Regions from separate parts of the Homo sapiens genome. Here all the other regions are linked to region 3. The links are contacts of gene promoters, found by promoter capture Hi-C in blood cells and fetal thymus (Javierre and others, 2016). All regions are on one chromosome and are shown on one strand. Each heading gives the region's core, a stretch centred on a gene start or on the middle of the fragment in contact. The rest is flanking DNA. Distances are from core to core; before and after follow the strand shown. Region 1 has its middle 110 kb from the start of RPAP3. Region 2 overlaps RPAP3 (RNA polymerase II associated protein 3). Region 3 holds the start of PCED1B (PC-esterase domain containing 1B). Region 4 overlaps RPAP3 (RNA polymerase II associated protein 3).

Region 1 (3,040 bases), core at 527-3,026, 520 kb after region 3:
TACCAAAAAAAATAAGGAAGTACTCCAAGAATAATGAAATCATCTCAAAAGGACACAAAAGCCAGCTTGAAAGGGCTCTCATAGTCAAATCTAAGATAATTTGGGCCTCAAAATAAATAACGATAGTGTGATTTGGCCGTTCTTGCATTGCTATAAATACCTGAGACTGGGTAATTTATAAAGAAAAGAGGTTCGATTGGCTCACAGTTCTGCAAGCTTTTGAGATGATGCTTTTGAGTTCTGTCCTTTTGAGATGATTTCATTATTCTTGGAGTACTTCCTTATTTTTTTGGTACAAGATGCTCTAAACTAATGCTGTACTTCCTCTGCCTTAGCCCTGGAATCAGTCATTTCTACAAAGACACCTGGTTCCTTTTAGTGGAGAATGGTGTTTAGAAACTAAGATTTAAGTGATAGGTATGCTCATTACTATTGGGGTGTCACTGCACTCATGCTGTCTCAGTGGACAGATGAATATCTATATGTGTTTGTGTGTACATAAATTTACATCTACATTTATTTCTATATATATGCACATATTTCAAAAACAGAGTTTAGCCTGATTCCTCTGCTTTCTATCTAATATCACAAGATACATGGTGCTGGCATCTGCTCAGCCTTTGGTGAATCCTCAGGGAGCTTTCAATCCTGGTGGAAGGTGAAGGACAAACAGGCATATCCCATGGTGATGAAAGCAAGTGAAAGATGGGCAGGGGAAATGCCACACACTTTTAAATGACCAGATCCCACGTGAACTGAGAGTGAGAGCTCACTTATCACCAAGGGGATGGTCCAAGCCATTCATGAGGAATCCACTCCCATGGCCCAAACACCTCCCGCCAGGCCCCACCTCCAACACTGGGGATTACAGTTCAACATGAGATTTGGGTGGGGACAAGTATCCAAACTAGATCAGATAGTGACATTATAACCCATGAATACAATAGGAAATCATGATATTCATTAATTAATCAATAAAAAGTTTGTTGAGGAACAAGATACTGTATTTACATGGCGTAAAAGCACCTTCCTGCAAATGTATATTAATTACAAAGGAGAAAAAGCTTAACTCCAGTGGAGGAGGACTCCTCCAAGTGATCAAGCTCAACATGATCAGTAATAGAACAACCCAAAATTATGCACCACCTGATAAGGTGCAATAAGAACACACATCATTTCTGTGATATTCCTGCCAAAAATGTACAGCCCAAATGTAATCATGAGGAAATAGGAAACTCTTCAACATAACTGGCCTGTAATCTTCAAAATCTTCAAAGTGTCATGAAAGTGAAGACTGAAGAACTGATCCAGATGTTAGAAGACTAAAGAAACTGGACTCTAAATGCAGTGTGTGATGCTCAACGTGATCCTTTTGCACTAAAGGACAATACAGGCACAAGTGCTGAAACTGGATGGGGTCTAGGGATTCGATGGCAGTCATGTTTTGATGTTAATTCCCTGATGTAATGAGCATACTGTGTCCCCGAAAAAGGCACATTAAACATTTTGGTGTTGGAAGGATCACCATTTCAGCAATTTACTCAAAATGATGGTGAAAAAGAGGTATTTGTACCAGACTTGTAACTTTTCTTTAAATTTGAGATTATTTTAAAATAAAAGGTATTTTTTAAGTTTTAGATAGCTTTATTAGCTATTTTTATTAGTTTCTGATTTAACCTTTCAGTGATTGGCAGAGCAAATTTAAGAAAAATATACATAAATTCTTATTTCCTCCCTTCTTATGCAAACCTAGGATGTTCTGCAACCTCCTTTTAATTTTTTTCACATGTAACAATATATTCTGGATAACATTTCACATGAGTACATGTGGAGATCTTCCTCACTCTCTTTTATGGTTGCATAGTGCTCCATGCCCTCAAATGATGCTCATTTGACATATTTCCAATTTTTTCCTATTTAAAAATAAAAGCCACACTGAATGACCTTTGTGCATGAGTCATTTTGTACTTATTCAGGTATATGTCTAGAATACATCTCTAGGAGTGGAATTGCTGGGTCAAAAAGTAGGTGATTTTTTAATTTATGATATTGCCACATTCTCCTGCAGAGTAGCAGTTTGCATTTCCACAACCCCACAAATAGAATGGGTTTAGATTTTTGCCAATCTGACAGGTAATTTAAATTTATTTTACTGTTAGTGTGGTTGACAGTCTTCTGATATGTTTGAAGGTCACAGAAATTTTGTCACTCCCCAGAAATGTTGTTTCCTCCCCACAAGTGTCTGATGGGTGCCAGGTTTGAAACCTGGTTCATTGTATTCTATGGTTTTGGTAGCTAAGAAGGAACACAATTAATAAATATTGGGTTTATTGGTTTTCACTGGAGTTTAGATAGACATTGGAAGATAAGTCTAATATACTCAAATATTATCTCCTCTACGAAATCTTCCCCAACAGTATCCAGCTGGGCTTAGTACGATTTCCCTAGCATTTTGTACATACCTCTATGAGCACATATCTTGCCATATTAAGCTTACTTGTTTAGATAATTATACTTACTGGGGTTTTGCACCTAGGAAGATAAAACACTACGCCTTATTCATTTTCCAATCCTTAGGATCAAGCCTAGTTTCTGGCACATACTCAATATGTGTGTGCCAATACAGATACCAATATAGATATTCAATAAGTATGTGTTTGAATAAATGAATAAGCAATTGATCAATAACCCCAGTGTTAAATTTATACTGAAATCTGCCGGGCATGGTGGCTCACGCCTGTAATCCCAGCACTTTGGGAGGCCGAGGCGGGCGGATCATGAGGTCAGGAGATCAAGACCATCCTGGCTAACACGGTGAAACCCCGTCTCTACCAAAAATACAAAAAATTAGCCGGGTGTGGTGGCGGACGCCTGTAGTCCCAGCTACTCGGGAGGCTGAGGCAGGAGATGGCATCAACCCAGGAGGCGGAGGTTGCAGTGAGCCGAGATTGCGCTACTGCACTCCAGCCTGGGCGACAGAGTGAGACTCCATCTCAAAAAAAAAAAAAAAAATTATACTGAAATCTAGCATGTCACTTCT
Region 2 (3,089 bases), core at 280-2,779, 580 kb after region 3:
CTTGTACAGGCCACTTCCACCCTGAGAGGGGCTATAGGGAAGTGTTTACATGACTATGTTTTTGCAAACTACATTTTCAAACTAAATTTCAAAACTAATATATTTTAACCACAATCAATCTAGACTGCTGTCCCTTTCTACTCTAACTTCCCTGCACCTAGTGTTTTGAGATCTAGACTATGAAGTAGCTGAGTGTTACAGAATATATTTACATGGTCTGCAGTCATTTTTGTACCAGGTTGAATTACTGCTCGCCATCTCAGTATAGGAAGATTTTAGCGATACTCCTACTACTGTCCATGCCATCAACTTTTCCAGTTTTAGGCCAGAAGTTGAACCATGATATAAATGCATTAGACAGTAACCAGCCCCAGAAGTGCATGTGCAGTGGTGGACAAGATTTGTAATGTATGGATCCCAAAGCTAATCTGTGGAGATACTTCTCAGTCTTCAGACATGTATTGTAACAGGATGCTTCATGGATGCCTGGTCAAAATGGGAGTTCTGCCTTACCAGAAATATATACTCATATAAACCCCAGAATCATATGGCTCAAATACAAAAGAAACACGGTAGAGATTTTCTCAAACTTGGCAACAATCCTAAAAACTTACATGACAGAACCAATAATTAGCTATGAAGACAAAGCTTTTAAATTATCAATAACAAAAAACTTAATTCCATCACGTGCTTTTTGCCAACGTCACCCTCTCTGTGCCCACTCTCCCTAGTCTGCTTTATGTGCTCCTTTTCCAATCTGTTAAATGTGGTTGTTAGTTCTGTTCCACTTACCCAGTCACCCTTTTCTCCTGATTCTATACTTCCAAGTAATCTCATCTAATCCTGAGACTTCACCTAAATGCTTTTTAATGTCCAAACCCAAATCACCATCCCTAATCTATTTCAATGACCAAAGGGATCACAAATCCAACAGATCCCAAATTGGACCTTTCTCTCAGCCACTCAACCAAACCTTCCAGTTCCACATATGGTGTCACCCGCTGTGGTTTATATTTTAGTGAATGAAAGCACTGCCCTAGGGGAAAAAAATCTGGGCATGACCATTAATGCTTCCTTCTGCTTCTCAACTTGCTTCCCAGCCCACACAGGATCACCAAATTGTACAAGTTAGGAAGCATTCACATTATGTTCCAGGGATGCCATTCACGCAGACCACAATGTAAAGGGTGCTCCTTGGAGTTAAGCCCTGAATGTGGGGGCCCTGAATCTACTGCCAAATCTTGCCCATTCTACTTCCCAAATATTTCTCCATTCTGGTCACTTCTCTCCATCCTCACGGCTAGTACTCTTGTTCAGGATACCATAATCTCTTGCCTTAGGTACCCCAAGTCCTCTGACAAGTTCCCCTGTCTCTAATGTCCCCAGGCAACTGTTCTTCCCATAGTAGCCAAAGTAAATTTTATAAAATACAAATTTCAGAATCACCCTCCTATATAAACTATCACTAGTTCCACAGTACCCTCAGGATGAAGTTCAAATGTCCTCTAGAATCTCAACCCTTCTGTCTTCACCAGCCTCATTTCTTACCACAATCCAGTTCCCACTCTGTGCTAAAAATTAAACTTAAGTTTTCTCAAACTTGTCTTGTCTTTTGCATCTGCTATTCCTGGTATTTCCCATGATCCCTTAGTATTACCTGTTTAGCATTTATTACGCTGTACCTCTTTATTTGTATCCCCACCATCCCATTCCACCTCCCACTTCGTTGTAAGTTTTGTGAGGAAAGAATCCATGTTTACTTTGTTCATTTTTGTATTTTCAGTGCCTAGCAGTGCCTGGCATTATATGTAGATTCAACAAATATTTGTTAAATTAATTAAATGAATGAATCAAACAAGTTTCATTAACATTAAATTTTTAATGTTTCTTTAAACATAACTCTGATAAAGGTCAAACATTAAGAAAGCATTGTAAAAAGGTAAAATGAGCCTTGGTACTGTGTTCAGAAATGCCTCCTGTTAACAGAGATAATGGATTTAGAGGTTGGAAGTAAAATTTTTTTCAAATGCGTTAGCACAAATTGTTAAAATGGTGAGGACTTGGATATGCCCCATCAATTTATTAAATTGAGTGTAACTAAAACCAGAGTCGGAGGCAGCCAATAAATGACGGGCATGGTGCTTCTGCCAACAATTCAAGAATAATTATGATGTAAATGTTGCTATCAAGTCAAAAGATACAATTAACAGTAAATAACTACATTTCCAGAAAGAAACCACTTGGGAAAATACTGCTTTTATACCTTTAAGGCAATAATATTACTATTATTAATAAAAATGACTGAGCACTATGTGACAGGCATTAATGTGCTAATACTTATAAGTATTAGCCTTTCTAAAAATCTTTGAGGTAGGCATTTACTAATATTCTATTTTATATGAGAGGAAACGGAAGCTTAGAGGTGCTAAGCAGTATGTCCAAATTCACAAGCTAGTTGAGTGCAATAGGTTGTATACGCAGGTTATTTGACCCAAAAATGACTTTATTAACCACTATGCTATTTTGCAATAAGGCAACAATATGACAGCCCCTAAAGACTGTTCTTTATTCTAATCACTTTTAGGAAATGTTGGTAATTGTAATAATAATAGTAACAGTAGCTTACTATACATCCAGCCCTGCTCCAAAAACAAAATGTGTGCATTCATTCAATCTCACTTATACCCATTCTACAGATTTCAAAAACAAAGAATAGAAAAGTAACTTGTCCAAGGCCCTAAAGCCAGATGGAGCCAGAATTCAAACTCAAGAAGTCTGAATCCAGAGCCTCTGGTCTTAAATCACTACATGAAAATGTCTCTGGGGAGAAATCAGGCTAACATCAGAAATTTTTTAAAATTCAAATTCTATAGTAAATCTTGTGATCTGTACTTCTTCAGTTAACAGTCTCTACACAGGTAACACAACATAAAAACTGCAGCTGGAAGTAGTTCAAATAGCTCTACATTAAGAGAAGACAGCACGTTCTGAACTGTTTTGGCCAATTTTTAGCTCTATAATCATGCAGAGAACATTAACCCTCTGAGCCTCCTTTTCTTATGTTAAGAATGACAATAACATTACCTGCC
Region 3 (3,196 bases), core at 561-3,060:
TGTTAAATGCCTCATGAGCATGGGATCTGCTTACAGTGAAATTGCTCACATTTATTGTGACGTCCACAGTTTCATTTAACAGGCGTTGCTTATTCATTGCGATACAAGAATACACTCCAGCATCCTCAAAACGAGGGCTTTCTATAACCAGACTTCCATTGTGAAACACGTAAAAGTTTTCCATCTCTTTATCCGGCTCTAGCAGTCTGTTATCTGGACCCACCCAGATGAAATCCGTATTTGCATTACCTGTCTTGCTGTCACAGTGGACCATCAGTCTTTCCCCGACCTGAGCCTCATGAATAAAGCCAAGCGCACGAAAGGAACCATTGATGATGCTGTCAGAGCAATTCATAAAGCTATCCTGGAGCAGAAGTACCTGACGCGAGTGCCTGGAGTCAGACCACAGGCGACAGGTGTAATCGTTCTTAAAATCCATCACTGAGCTAAAGTGCCTACGATACCAAAAGACCAGCAAGGAGTACAGGGAACAGTCACAGACAAATGGGTTTCCATGAAGGTAGATGCCTCTCAGCTGTTTTCCTGGCACTAAATTTATGTGGTGCATTGGCATGGAAGGAATTCGGTTATAAGAAACATCTAAAAACATCAGTTCTGCCAGCTTGAACCTTCCAACATACAAATCCATCGGAAACTGTGTGAGAAAATTTCCACTTAAGTAGAGTTTCTGCAACTGGGAGAGCCCTCCAAACGCTGAAGGATCGAGATAGGATATGTGATTGTTGTAAAGCAGAAGCACTTCCAGAACCTTCAACTCTTGGAATACAGCATTTTTCACCGTCTTCAGCTTATTGGACGATAAGTCAAGACACTTCAAATTTGGAGTTGTGGAAAAACTGCCCGTGGAAATGCTGGTGATGTTGTTATGACGAAGAATTAGGGTGTTCAGCTTTGCAAACGATACTGGAATCCACTCAGAATCCAGAAGCCCAATTCTGTTATAACTCAGGTCCAGTCTCTTAATCAGTCTGAAAAGGTTCCCAGGCACCTTGGACAGGTTTTTGTTGGTGCAGCTGACGATGTCAGTGGCACAGATGCAAGCGGTGGGGCACACCCCAGAGGCACCAGGGCCCACAGTCACTGTGATCATCAGCAAACACAGCAGCTCCCTGCAGCCCGGTCTGACGACGGCTCCAAGCAGGGTGGGCAGAGTGTGTACACGTAACGACATTATGGTCGCCTCTGAGTCTCTTCCCGGTGTCTTTTCCACCGGCTCAGCCTCCCACCAGTGAACCTGGCAAACAATTAATAATTCAGAGGGAGTAAAAAGCAGAAACTGACTACCACTAGTTAACCCATAAGAGCCATACCTTACTTTCTTTCCAATAACTTTTGAAATGGGTTTTATTTCACAATAGGGAGCTCTGTGTTGCCTCTTCACTGTTAAATGTATTTTTTCCTCTTTCCTGGGTTAGTCCTGCTTATAAAAATGTACAGTCACATTCTCTCCATACAACCCACCGTCTCACCCACCATCAGAAACTCAATTTTTTCCTAAGGTGCATCCTGCGTTGTTGTTGTTGTTGTTGTTGTTTTAAACTCCCTCCAACAGACACAACTATACGCAAACGTACGCTACAAACAATTAAACGGAAATACTTAGCAACCACCCATCCAGGAAAAAACTCACGGTGCTGGGGAGCCTCGTGGGCTCCGGGGAGGCTGCCTACGCAGTGCCTTCCGAAGGTCTGCGCGTCCGTCTGTCCGTGTCTGTCACTCTTGCACCTTCCGACTTCCTTTCCCTCCGGCTCCCGGCGGGCGGCACCCTCTAGCCGGCTCTCAACTTTGAGGAGTTTCAAGCAGCCGCGGCGGCAGCAGCAGCCCTGGACGCAGCAGCCAAGCTCTTCGCTGGCTCCCGGGGGCTCTCCCGGGTTCCTCTCATTGCAGGCTGAAGGTACCGCCTCGGCGCTCTGGCCGCCGTGTGCCCGCGCGCGGGGCGCCCCGCTCCCAGAGCCGGGGCCGCGGGAGGGGGCGCAGGCAGCCGGGCGGCAGCGGGCGGCCCCGCCTCTCCGCACTCGGGAGGCTGCAGGACCCGGGGTTCCCGCGCGCCCGGGGCCGGGAGACGGGCTGGGGCGCCGGTCCCACCCCTGCGCGTCCTGCCTCCTGCGGGCAGCAGCTCGGAGCCTGCGGGAGGGAGCAGGCTGGGCGCGTGGTGGGGGGCGCGCGATGCGGAGGGGGCGGCGGCGCAGCCAATCCGAGAGGCGGCCGGCGCCCCCTCATACCGCCCCGCGGCCTCGCCGCCTCCTCCCGCTTTCCTCCTCCAGCTCCCACCCGGACCTCTAGAACGGCCGCGCAGAGCGGGGAGGGGGCAGGGGTCCACACCAGAGGCCCAGACTCTGGTCCTTGAGTCAAGATGCCCAACCCACTCGCCTACCAATTACGTCCCTTCGTCCAGCTCCAAGCCGGGCGGTAATGGGGTCCAGGAAGGCTAAAGGGGACACGCCCAGCCACCGAGGGAGGGGTCTCACCCTTGGAGACCCACTTCGCGGCGGCCGCACAGGTCACGTCTCTCTCCCCACCCAGGCCAAGGAATCCCCGGACCTCTTAGAGCTTTGCTTTGGGGCAAGGGCCAAGGAGGCTTTGCCTGCGCCAAGTGCAGTTGACTGTCTGGGTTTACAAAATAAACCCAGAAGCAGCCTGACGTCTCCGCTCGTTTCTAGGGAGGAGGTCGCGGGGAGGGAAGTCGGGAACGTTTCCTCTCCACAGGGATATCTGCTGGGAGGAAGTAACCGGGAAATCGCCACGGGGACACCCCTCACCTCCCTGGGAAAGTTCTATCCCTTTCCTGACTCAGGAGGCGGCAACAGGGATGGTGTCCAATTCAAGAAGGAGGAGGGCAGGAAAGAAGGCTTGGAGCCGACCTTCCGGCTGGAATGCAAAGATAAGAGTATTAACCCAAATAATAATAATAATCCCAGAGCAGACCTTTTTTTCTTTTTTCTCTCTTCTCCTTCCCCTCTTCTCTCTCCCTCTCTCTCTCCCTCTCTCTCCTTTCTCTTTCGTTCTCTCTCTCTCATTTCCTCTGTCTCTGTCCCCGCCACCTCCCCGTCTTTTGCAAGCGTGCTCGTGGCGCGTGCGGGACAGGGAAGTAAGGGGCGTGTGCGCGGAGGCTCTTCATCCCTTCCGGAGATGCCGCGGCCGACCAGCGCGCTTTGGTTCAGCAAGCACAGAAGGT
Region 4 (3,152 bases), core at 543-3,042, 600 kb after region 3:
TTCCCTTCCTTTCCATTCTGGTCTTTTTATCGTTTTCCATTCTCATGTATAATTAAAATTTTTCATTAATATTGACTGGCAATTAGCCAGAATGTACTAAACAAAATTAGCCAGAATGCTACTAAACAAAAAGATAATCTGGTACATTGCGGAAGCTGCATTCCTCCAAATCTATTCGTGATCTAAACTGTGGAAAGAAAACATAATTCCCTAAGTTCAGTATCTTTGAACCATGGGTAAGCTACATGAATCTCTGCTTCTTTAACTTGGGCACTCATCAGGATGACTGAGTGCCAGCTGTTATAAAGTCTTACCTTGTTTTGCCTCATTTAGCTTTCCCAAAAATGTTCTTGCAGTTCCTCTTCTGGCAAAAGCTTTAGAATATGAGCCATCTAATAAAATGGCTTGTGTGCAGTCTTTTTCAGCTTCTTCATATCTATTGAACATGATAAAATTACTGACTGGAAAAAAGGCAGCTTATGGAAAAATGTCATATAAACTAAGTTTCTAATTTAAAAAGCTTGTATATAATTTCAATCACTAACTTCTAAATCTGTGTTTGAAGTGGAGAACTATTTTATAAATTTTTTATTCTCACCAAATCCTGGAATCATTTGGTGAGGAGGGAGAAGGTACCAGATTGAGGGAATGTTAGGAGAGTCTGCTGGAGCGATGAAATAATAATGCAAAAATATGACTAGGGCAGACAAAAGAATGCCACTGCTTCTCTGCCTACCTCTTCTCCAAGTCTCAATATGCACAGGTATTACATTAGAATTTTGACTGGCATTAGTTTTCTAATAAAACTTTATTAACATTTACCCACAGTAAACCTCCCATACTCATAGAAAAACAAAAAAATGAGAACTTGGTACGAATGTGATAGCATATCATCTAATACTTTGCATAAATTCTACTCAGCCATGCAACCAGCAATCAATTCAGACTTACAGACTTACTCATTACTGCTCTACAACAACAAGGTGCTTAAGAAGAGCTCAACCCCCTCCACCAAAAAAACCCAATAACAAAAAAACTTCAGACATTCCCATATATTAATAGGACATTAATGAATTATTGTTAATTTCTTAGGAGTGCTAATGGTTGTGGTTATGTATAAAATATCCTTTCTTTAGCAATAAACGTCATAATGTTTATGATTTGCTTTACAATAATTCGGGGGGAAAATGCTGAAACAAATATGACCAAAAAAAGTATGGCTTGTTAGAACTAGATGATGGACACATGGAGTTTATTATACTACTTTTGTATAAGTTTGAAAAGTTTCATAAGAATATTAAAAAAAAAAAAAACACTCCTGTAATTGCATTCTCCCCAAGGCCTAAATGGATGTCATCTTGCCCTCAAAACAAAATCTCATATGAAAAAAATCAGAATTTCGAATGAACTTAAACATCTCTGATTTATTTAACTCACTTTCCAGCAAGAGATAAAGAATATATCTGTGTTCATGCCCTTATCAATGTTATTTTCTACTTGCCTGATTATATCATTCAAGATACCTGCATGGCCCCCATACTTTTCAAGATAAAGTCCAATTCCTTTGGAGCGCAAAGTCAGGGGCCTGCCTGAGTATCTGGCCTTCTCTCTGCCACTGTCCCCTGCAATAACAGCCATAATACGAACCACTCACCCTTTCCAGGTTGAGGTACCATCAACCTGCCTACTCCCACGTCTTTGAACCTGCACTAGAACACTTGACCTGTTTCCTGTTTTTTCACCTCACTAACTCATACTACTCCTAAACAATTTCAAGATGCTTTCCAGGAATTCCCCTGCCTGGACTCAGTCTATGCCAGTATTCTTCCCACTCTGAACTCCTATAGCACGTGTCCTTCATAGCGCTATCTTAGCGTATTTTCACAAATATTGGTCTCCTTTTCTGTCACTCCCTGCAAATTTCGGGTTTCTTAAAAACAACTATACATTTAATATTTGTATACTTAATACCTTCCACAGTGCCTCACAGAACACCTGATACATTTTAGCACAATAAATATTTGCTGAATAAGTAAATCAAAAAATTTCCAACACCCAAATTCAAAGAAAATTTAGAATATAAATGTTTAGGAAATCATTTTAATTGTATATTTAATTGCATATTTAATTGCATGTTCTACTGTACAGCTGAAGAAAACCCAACAATTTTTCTAAAAGTCTGAAGTTGCCACAGAGGTAGACGATTATTCTTTGAAAATAGACTCACCTAAGTCCTTTAAAATTATTACACGTCTCCTGTGCACTCCATTTGTAAAGTGAATTTAGAAAAATCCAATCAACAAACATCTTTTAGGTGGTTGGAGAAAAAGACAAACTAATCAAAAATAGAATAAAAATGGTGAGTGCGAAAAACTATCATCTCTGCCTAGCTCCTTAGCCCTGATTCCTTCTGATTTTCAGTCAGGTCCACTTGCCCTAGGTCTACTCTGGCTCTAGTGTAAATGCCGCCCCTAATCACCATTAAGTGAACCACCCTCTACTAAATCAAGTCTTAGTCTGGTTCCAGTTCCAGCAACCAAGATTCTACCTTATTTTTGTGACCAACTCTCAACCCTGTTTCCCAAATCTAATATCTAATACTACTGGGTTATTTTCTTCTTATCCTATCTCTAAATCTATGCTTTACTCCCTCTAAGAATAGGACTCAGATTTGTTCTTGGTCAGTCCTCTTCAAGGACTACAATGTTGGCCCAAACTTCTGTCCTTATTTCTGATTATCTTCTTATTTCTTCAGCCTTTCTGAAGCTAACCATCTACCAGCCTACATTCCACAATTTGCCAGCTCACAGGCACTCCATTATTGTAACTCAAGGATGTCTTGCTCATCTCCCAATGCAAACTACTAATTTAGACTATCACCTCCAGAAAGCACATTCTCTAGGAATCCCGGTTGGCCTAACTAGGTGAATTTCTTCTTACTCCCTACTGCTACCCCGCACACTGGTAGGTAAGACTGACTATACTGCTGGTTCTAATTAGCTCTAATTTGACACAGTTTATAGAACCTCAAGCTATAGGATGGTTACCTAAACTAGGAGTAGTCTAAGCTTGAAATGTTGCTTTTTTATGTTCCTCACATAGTCCGTAATACATAACAACAGTCTCCATGTACAGAAAAAAATTCTGATATT

What was found. The method cuts DNA at HindIII sites, captures the fragments that hold promoters and counts their contacts. A CHiCAGO score of 5 or more calls a contact.
Region 1: a fragment that was not itself captured here is called in contact with the fragment with the promoter of PCED1B in region 3 in 1 of 17 cell types (M1 macrophages); the score reaches 5.9 in M1 macrophages.
Region 2: a fragment that was not itself captured here is called in contact with the fragment with the promoter of PCED1B in region 3 in 1 of 17 cell types (activated CD4 T cells); the score reaches 5.1 in activated CD4 T cells.
Region 4: a fragment that was not itself captured here is called in contact with the fragment with the promoter of PCED1B in region 3 in 7 of 17 cell types (activated CD4 T cells, M0 macrophages, total CD4 T cells and 4 more); the score reaches 7.6 in activated CD4 T cells.

Annotation. Positions count from the first base shown.
Region 1 is chr12:47,599,283-47,602,322 of GRCh38, forward strand. No RefSeq gene overlaps it. Among named protein-coding and RNA genes, the nearest start is that of RPAP3, 110 kb to the right of the region's middle. The HindIII fragment of the contact is 1,428 bases long and covers 1,063-2,490 here.
Region 2 is chr12:47,658,767-47,661,855 of GRCh38, forward strand. RPAP3 (RNA polymerase II associated protein 3) reads right to left here. Exons shown (of 17, transcript NM_024604.3): 17 at 2,483-3,089. Among named protein-coding and RNA genes, the nearest start is that of RPAP3, 46 kb to the right of the region's middle. The HindIII fragment of the contact is 1,767 bases long and covers 647-2,413 here.
Region 3 is chr12:47,077,811-47,081,006 of GRCh38, forward strand. It overlaps PCED1B (PC-esterase domain containing 1B), which reads left to right and starts at 1,811. Exons shown (of 4, transcript NM_138371.3): 1 at 1,811-1,915. AMIGO2 (adhesion molecule with Ig like domain 2) reads right to left here and starts at 2,149. Exons shown (of 3, transcript NM_001370299.1): 1 at 1,652-2,149; 2 at 1,332-1,438; 3 at 1-1,255. The coding sequence starts at 1,192. The HindIII fragment of the contact is 11,510 bases long and covers 1-3,196 here.
Region 4 is chr12:47,681,382-47,684,533 of GRCh38, forward strand. RPAP3 (RNA polymerase II associated protein 3) reads right to left here. Exons shown (of 17, transcript NM_024604.3): 10 at 315-436. Among named protein-coding and RNA genes, the nearest start is that of RPAP3, 23 kb to the right of the region's middle. The HindIII fragment of the contact is 2,548 bases long and covers 519-3,066 here.